Regions from separate parts of the Homo sapiens genome. Here region 1 is linked to region 2. The links are contacts of gene promoters, found by promoter capture Hi-C in blood cells and fetal thymus (Javierre and others, 2016). All regions are on one chromosome and are shown on one strand. The core of a region is centred on a gene start or on the middle of the fragment in contact, and the rest is flanking DNA. Distances in the headings are between cores, read along the strand shown. Region 1 overlaps LOC105373059 (a long non-coding RNA gene). Region 2 holds the start of SULT4A1 (sulfotransferase family 4A member 1).

Region 1 (4,077 bases), core at 96-2,595, 690 kb before region 2:
GGTCCTCACTGCTGACCACCTCTGTGTTTCTCCTTTCTCTAAGAAGCCCGTTGGTGGGAGAAGCCACCCTTGTTCTCAGGCAGACACCTGCAGATCGCTCAGCCTCAGTTGCTTTCAATCCCAGCAAGAGAGGCCTACCGCTCAGAAGTTTTCTTTGCCATGAGTGGAACTTCAGATTTTTTCTGTAAACCTGTGAAGCAGCTCAGCTTCACAGAGAACTCCAAACTCTCACGCCTCTGTGTGACCTTGACCAAGTTCATTAACCTCTCTGTGTTTTACTTTTCCCATCTGTAAAATAAAGTGGGTGGATTAGACCAGCACTATAATAGACATGGAATTTGAGCCACATACAGAGTTTGTGGCTAAAGTTTTCTAGCAGCCACGTTTAGAAAAGAAATAGGTAAAAGTATTTTAATAATACATTTTATTTAACTCAATATATCCAAAATATTGGTACAACATGGACTCTAGATGAGTTGTTAAAGAGACATTTTGCAATTTATTTTATTTTATTTTTTTGACATGGAGTTTTGCTCTTGTCACCCAGGCTGGAATGCAATGGTGAGATCTCGGCTCACTGCAACCTCCGCCTCCCAGGTTCAAGCGATTCTCCTGCCTCAGCCTCCCGAATAGCTGAGATTACAGGCATGCACCACCACGCCCAGCTAATTTTGTATTTTTAGTAGACACGGGGTTTCTCCATGTTGGTCAGGCTGGTCTCCAACTCCCGACCTCAGGTGATCTGCCCGCCTCAGCCTCCCAAAGTGCTGGGATTATAGGGTGAGCCACCACACCCGGCCACAGTTGCTTGCTTTCTCACGAAAGGTTTAACACAAGCCGGTAACTCTCCTGGGTGGTGTCCTCCATACAGTGACTCAGGGACCCAGCCAGGCCACTTTCATGTTCTCCAGTGAGGAGGAGGAGGAGGAGAGAGCTGGGCATGGCCTGGCTGTGCAGACCACCCTATCCCATTGGGCAGAGCTCAGGAACATGGCCCTACCTTAGTGCAAGGGGGGCTGCGGGTCAGAGTCTTCCTCGGACCTGGGAAGATGAGCGATGCTTCCAGTGAATGGTTTTGTCCGCCTCAGGGCCCTTGCCCATTCTCTCCCCTCTGCTTGGAATGTTCTTCCTTTCCCTTTTCTGGGGATTAAGTTCTGCTTATCTCTGGTGGGATGCAGTGGCTTACGCCTGTAATCCCAGCACTTTGGGAGGTGGAGGCGGGTGGATGAGTCAGGAGTTCGAGACCAGCCTGGCCAACATGGTGAAACTCCGTCTCTACTAAAAATACAAAACGTAGCTAGGCATGGTGGTGCCTGTAATCCCAGCTGCTTGGGAGGCTGAGGCAGGAGAATCACTTGAACCCAGGAGGCAGAGGTTGCAGTGAACCGAGATCACCCCACTGCACTCCAGCCTGGGTGACAGAGCAAGGTTTCATCTCAAAAAAAAAAAGGAAAAAAATTCTGCTTGTCTCAGATCAAATGTCACTTCCTCAGGGAGGGCAGGGGCCTGGGAGCCAGGCAGGGCTGGGTCCTGCAGGCGCAGTTACCCACCACCCATGGCAGGCAGCAGCAGGAGCTTGGGCTTTACCCCTGACCTGGACAACGGAACTGAAGGGTTTCCGGGGCCTGCGGGAGGTACAAGGATGGGATTTGCATTTGAAACCAACCTCTTGGGCTGGATGGAGAGCCGATACTGATACCTCTATTTTTAAGAAAGGCCAACTCTCTTGGTGCCCTGAGCAAAGCAAAACTCTGCGTGATGCCAACTTTGATGAACAATCTCGTCTCCATTGAAATATTTTACCCACGTGCCCAGGAAAAGGCTGATACGTTATTCAGCCTCACAGCTGCCAGGGCAGAGGGGCCCCCGGCTGTTTCCTCATGAGCTGCCTTTGCTAGGCCAGGGCCCGAAGAGGAGCCCAGGGAGGCCGGCGCTTTCAGGGAGCAGAGATCGAGGCAGCCTTGAGTCTTCTCGGCTTCTCAGCCAAGGGCCTGAGCCCGGTCACTTCTTTCATGTTTATGGAGCTTAATGAATGCTGAGGGCAGGTGGCCCAGGCCCTGGGCCACAGACATGAGACAGGAACAATCCTGAGCTATCTCAGTGTGAGGTGGGGACCGACGTCCAGACAGCTAGAAAGCAACAGGCGGACAGAGAGCAACAAGGGGGCATGGGAGTCCAGGTTGGGAAGGACAGCCAGGTCGGGCATGCAGGAAAGGGTATGTCCAAGCTGGGTTCTAAAGGTTGAGTAGGAGTTCACCAGGTGTAGGAGGTGACTGAAAAACATCCCTGGCAGGGACAAGCAGGGGCCAAGCTCTTGAAGGTTGCAAGGGCACAGGGCATGAGTGTGAGCAGGACAGGACATGGGACTGCAGATCTAAGCAGAGGCTGGGTCCTGGAGAGCTTTGAATATCAGGACTATGAGTTTGGACTCAGCCCTGGAGTCCTATGGAGCTGTTGACAGGGATTAAGAAGGGAGTGACATGGATCTGTAGTTCACAGAATGGATCCCAGGCATGCAGAGCGATCCACATGCCTGAGAGTGACCCCGGACTGGACTTCAGAGTTGAAAAAGACAAGCTGGGCACGGCAGCTCCTGCCTGTAATCCCAGCACTTTGGGAGGCTGAGGTGGGCAGATCACCTGAGGTCAGGAGTTTGAGACCAGCCTGGCCAATCTGGTGAAACCCTGTCTCTACTAAAAATACAAAAATTAGCCAGGTGTGGTGGTGGGCACCTGTCATCCCAGCTACTTGGTAGGCTGAGGCAGGAGAATCATTTGAACCTGGGAGGCGGAGGTTGCAGTGAGCCGAGATCATGCCACTGCACTCCAGCCTGGGCGACAGATTGAGATTCCGTCTCAATAACAAAAGAAAAAGAAAAAGACATGGCCTGCCCTTGGGTAGCTCCGTGTCTAATGGGCGAGGTCTGAGTGACCTGAGTACCCTGGAAATTAGGTGGTAGCACCCCTGTTTACAGATGAGGATCTCAACGCTCAGAGAAGTGAGGGAATTTGCCCAAGATCACAAAGTGTGGAGGAAAGGCAGCCTGGAGCTGACCTTTAGCAACTGATCACCGCTCTGGGCTTCTGTCTTCTCAGTCGTCAAATGGGGACACAAGACCCACTGACTTGCTGGGATGCCGAGAGGTGAGGGTCGATCTGTTTCCCCGGCGCCTGACACAGGGTATGCTTTATCAGGGGCTCATGAGTGCGTGCCCTTTCCTCTCCTCCCCCTGCCTCTCCAGCCAAGGAAACCCAGGCTCCCTGGGGGCATTTTCTCAGGAATGTCTCCCAGGCCAAGTCCCCCTTCTAGTTCCACCCTTACTAGCCCCAGAGAATCAGGGCAGGATTGGGGGTTCAGTGAGAACCCAACCTGGGCTAAGGGTGAGGCCGGTTCAGTCCCAATAATAATGGCAAATGTCAGCAGAGCCTGAGCCAAGGGTGTGCTCAACTTATCACATCAAACCTCAGATTAGGTAAATCCTATCAGTCCCATTTCACAGGTAAGGGGAAACTGAGACTCAGAGTCCCACCCAAGGTCACCTGGCTGCTAAAGGGGGAGCTGGAACCCAAACTGCAGGTCCTGAAGGCAAATCCCATGCTCTTCCCTCAATACCCTGCACCCAGAGTGAGCACAGCTCAGGGAGAAGTCCTGAGCCCAGGCTTGAGGGTGACCAGGGTCAAGGTGGAGAGCTGGGCCGGGCCCCCACCAACAACCAGCAGCAGCAGATCCCATGCACCTGAGACCACGAGCAAACAACACGTGCGGGATACCTGGGCCAGGTGTAGCTGATTTGCATATACTGTTTCTAGGCCTCTTGCTGGCCTTTCCTTGGGGCCTGCGCTCAGTCACAGCGAGGGAGGTGGGATCTGAACTCAGGTAAGTGTCACTCCAGGCCACATGCATCCCCTGCTGCAGGCTGCCCGAAGCTCTCCCTTCTTGCTATGGATCCCCGGCAGGGAGCTTAGGGCTGGCACCTGGGCCCGGGTGAGCTGGGTGGAGATGGGCTGAGGTGCCCATGCTGGGCTGTGGGAGGCAATGGCACCCTGTCGAGCCAGGGTGGGCTTGAGCTGGGAAGAG
Region 2 (4,318 bases), core at 702-3,201:
TTCATTTGGTGAGGGAAGTATTTAGCAAAGATCTGGGCAGTGGGTATGCCTAGTATTATTGAGATATCACTGCCTAAAGGCTTTTCCAGCAAATATAAGAAATAGGAATTTTAAAATATCATAAACTCATGTCAATACCTCCAATTCCAATCCAATACCATAGAGTTCTTCCCTGCCTTCTCGCATTCCCCACTTACATTTTCCTTCTCCCACAGTGAGAACCCTCACCTGAAACATCAGGATATTCATTCATTCACTCAATCCCTCTAGCTTTTGGCTAGATGCCCTTTTGCCATTGGCCTAATTATTCTGAATAAAGGCTGGGTGCTCGGAATGTCCTCTTTCTTTTTTGGAAAGACATCTACAAGCTTCCCAAGTCAGGATTAATTGCTGTTTCCTCTCTCTGTCTGCTATGTACACATGGCCTGCGCTTCTCAGCCCATGTGTATGTCTTTGGTGTCAGAATGCACGTGTCTCACTCTACAGTAAGAAGGAGAGAGTAGGAATAGGTCCCGTCCAGCCACTCTGCTCCAGATTCTTGTTGGTGTAAACTCCTTCCATCTTCCTGGCTACACTACTTAGAGGTAGGAATCATTCTTTTCCTTTACACAGCTGATGATGCTCGGCTGCAGAGAATGAGAGCAGGCTGTGTTGTTTTCATCTTTGTGCTTCCCCAGGCATGTTAGTAGGTGCTTCATATATGTCTGTTGAGTGCATGACTGGCAAGGGGTTGCACTGAGATCTCTAGAACTCGGTTGCTCTCAAATTATAGTTTGCACAAGAAGTGCCTTACTAAATGTATATTTTTGTAATTTTTCTCCATAGATCTGGGGTCCTGGAATTTGCAATCCAACACTCCCCTCCCCTACTCATGGGATATTAAGAAGCACTTTTTGGCTGGGCGAGGTGGTTCACACCTGTAATCCCAGCACTTTGGGAGGCCAAGGTGGGCAGATCACGAGGTCAGGAGATTGAGACCATCCTGGCTAACACGATGAAACCCCGTCTCTACTAAAACAAACAAACAAAAAATACAAAAAATTAGCCAGGCATGGTGGCATGTGCCTGTAGTCCCAGCTACTCGGGAGGCTGAGCCAGGAGAATGGCGTAAACCCGGGAGGTGGAGCTTGCAGTGAGCTGAGATCGCGCCCCTGCACTCCAGCCTGGGCGACACAGCGAGACTCCATCTCAAAAAAAAAAAAAAAAAAAAAAAAGCAAAAAAAAAGCACTTTGTTTTTTTGGCTGGACTAGGTGGCCCATACTTTTTTTTTGTTGTTGTTAGAAGATCTCGTCCTGTTGCCCAGACTGGAGTGCAGTGGTGCAAGCTCACAGCTCACTGCTAATTTTTTTTTTTGTATGTTTGTAGAGATGCGGTTTCACCATTTACCCAGGTTGGTCTCGAACTCTTGACCTCAGGAGATCCGCCCGTGCTCGACCTCTCAAAGTGCTGAGATTACAGGCGTGATCCACCGCGCCTGGCGAAGACGCATATTTTTAATAGGACCTAATATTTACCTGAAATTATCTTGGTTATTTACCAATGTAAGCTCCAACAGGGCCAGGCTTCTGCTTGCTTCTACCCTGACGCGTGTCGGGGCCCTGGCCCAGTGCCTGGCACAGATCAGCAGCGCGCTAAGCACGTGTTGAATGGACGACTACCTTTCAGGGCCTTCCAGCCAGGGTATCTCATGCGTCTGTGTTGAGCGCTTGCTGAGTGACAGAAGCTATGAGCGGAATGAACGCACGCACGACTGAGGAGGCTGCAGACCGCGGGCCAGGGTCTCTGTCAGCCCCGGCAGCGGGTGGGTGACCCCGGCCGGGGGCGGGGCGGGGAGGACGCGGCTCCGCGGCGCCATGACGTCACGCCCGTGCAGCGCCGCGGCCGCGTGCCGGGCGGCGCCATGACGTCATACCCGCGGAGCCTCCGCCGCGCGTCGGCGGCGCCATGACGTCACGCCTGCGGAGCTGCCGCCGCGCGCCGGTGGGGCGCGAGCGTGTGCGGGGCGCGGGCGCGGGCGCGGGCGCGGGCGCGTGCGGGCTGCGAGCCGGGAGGCGGCGGCGGCGACGGCGACGGCGGCGGCATGGCGGAGAGCGAGGCCGAGACCCCCAGCACCCCGGGGGAGTTCGAGAGCAAGTACTTCGAGTTCCATGGCGTGCGGCTGCCGCCCTTCTGCCGCGGGAAGATGGAGGAGATCGCCAACTTCCCGGTGCGGCCCAGCGACGTGTGGATCGTCACCTACCCCAAGTCCGGTGAGCCCCGCGCCGACCGCGCCCGCCACGCCATGCCCCAGCCCTGCAGCGCGGCCGCGTAGACGCCGCGCCCGCGCCCGGGGCTTCTGCTGGGCCGGGTGGTCGCCCTTGGCCTCCGCCCCTGCCGTGCCCACCGCTCTCCCGATGCTCGGATCCCTGCGGGGCGGGGTGGGGTGGGGTGGGGGTGGGAAGGGGCTTGGTTCTCATCTGGGGAAACCAAGGTCAGAGACCTTCGGGAGCGGCCCCTTCCGTGGAGATGGAGCCTATTTGGCCGGCGCTGCAGGAGGATGGGCCCAGGGCCGCCACCCATCCCTGCTTCTCCCTTTACCTGGCTGGCTGTGTGACCTTGGACAGGTCACTCAACCTCTCTGTTCCTGAATCCTGCCCAACCTTTGATGAGTGCAAAGTCCTGGTGTTCACCTGGGAAGGGAGATAACATGGGCGTCAGGGCTTTCAGCGTGGAAACGTAACGTCCCTCCTTTCCAGCCTGGGCTCCGGGTGGGGGATGGGACCAGTCCCCGCCTGGAGTGCCTTGCTTGTACATTCTCTTGTTTCAGGGCTGCCTCCATCACCGAGGCAGGACCTGGGGCATTCACATTTCCCAGCATTAGCTGACGTCACTTTCACAATAACAGCTGTGTGAGCTAGTGGTGGTCATTCCCACTTTACAGTCTAGGCACAGAGGCTCAGAGAGGGGAAGAGGCTGGTCCAAGGTCACTCAGCTGGTGAGTGGCTGACCTGGGAATTAAAGCTAGGCTGGTCTGTTTCCAGACCTGAGGTAGGAGATTGTATAGTACCCCATCTGAGGTTTTTAGGGAAAGGAGGTAGCAGCTTTCCTGTTCTGTAAACATGCCCTGGGATTTCCTTGTTGCCACTGTATTTGAGGCAATCACAGCGTGGTTTAGAAGGTGTCTGGCTCTAAGGTCACGCCGGACCAGCAGTCGGGCAGTTTCAGGAAAAGCTGTAGGCTTGGCTGTTGTAGCTGTATGGAGTTCCAGACACCTGAGGGCAGGTCTCTGACATTCTTCTGAGGAAGATTGGAGTAGGGACTCTCAGTGGAGGGTGTTGGTTGGAGAACAGAGCGTTCGATGGGCTGCTATCTTGAGCACATGCCAGTCGCCGCATGGGGTGGGACCTAAAATGCTTTAGGAATGGCTAAGCGTGTCGTTGGCTTCTGTGGCCACTCATTAAGTCCTGCGGGCCAAGTGCTCTATCGCTGTTAATCTGTGAGGGACTCTTACACCTTTTTTTCAGAGGCTCAGAGAAGGCACAAATTGTTCGGAGTCACACAGTTGCTGAGGGACAGAGGTCAGGTCTAGCTAGGTCTCCCGGTCCACGGCCAGCCTCTCCCCTGCCTTATGGGTGCTCCGTTGCCCTTGGAAAACCGTGAGGGCCCAAGAAGGAGGGGGACCTAGCCTTCTTTCTTGGAGGCTTTAAAATGCTGGAAGTCTCAGCCACTTAGGGATTTTGAGGTTTGTGTCACTTCTCTGAGGCCCCTCCAAGTGGACTTCTGGTAGCCCAGTTCATATTTTCTTTTCCTTTCCTTCCATCTGCTACTGGGGATGGATTTGTAGCAGGCATCAGTGCTTACACATTAAGAACCTGGCTTCGGAGTTGGAAGTCCTGGGTTTGAATGCAGTTTTGCGGCTTACCAGCAGAGTGACCCTGGGCAGATCATAGAATCCCATTGAGCTGTGGTCTCTGCGGAGGGAGAAGAGACCACCTCGGCCCGCTGATGTGTGGCTGTGAGGATGAGCAAAATGGCGGGTGAGAACGCTTAGCCCACGTCCAGACACACGCTGGAAAGGCTCGTGGTTAATGCTGACTTTTAAGCCCTGAACACCTGTTGTGCCCAGATGCTTTGCTAGGGGCTGGGGAAGCCGAGAGGGCCCCATCTGGTGCCTGTCCTTAGTGAGCTCTCAGTCTGATGGGGGAGACATGGTTGGTGCTGGGGTTGGGGCAAGTAGCCAGGACTAACAGGTGCCCCATTCACCTGCCATGGCAGGGAACCCACGGGCCTCCTTGGATTTCCAGTGCCCAGGTGTAGGAGATCCTAATGAACTTGCAG

Evidence for each region. Contacts are between HindIII fragments. The CHiCAGO score rates a contact against its expected background, and 5 or more counts as called.
Region 1: a fragment that was not itself captured here is called in contact with the fragment with the promoter of SULT4A1 in region 2 in 1 of 17 cell types (activated CD4 T cells); the score reaches 5.5 in activated CD4 T cells.

The regions. Positions count from the first base shown.
Region 1 is chr22:44,545,097-44,549,173 of GRCh38, reverse strand. The region is part of intron 1 of LOC105373059 (a long non-coding RNA gene); the gene reads left to right. Among named protein-coding and RNA genes, the nearest start is that of LINC00207, 22 kb to the left of the region's middle. RefSeq lists an enhancer at 3,428-3,981. The HindIII fragment of the contact is 8,892 bases long and covers 1-4,077 here.
Region 2 is chr22:43,860,146-43,864,463 of GRCh38, reverse strand. It overlaps SULT4A1 (sulfotransferase family 4A member 1), which reads left to right and starts at 1,951. Exons shown (of 7, transcript NM_014351.4): 1 at 1,951-2,250. The coding sequence starts at 2,082. RefSeq lists an enhancer at 3,636-4,135. The HindIII fragment of the contact is 4,757 bases long and covers 371-4,318 here.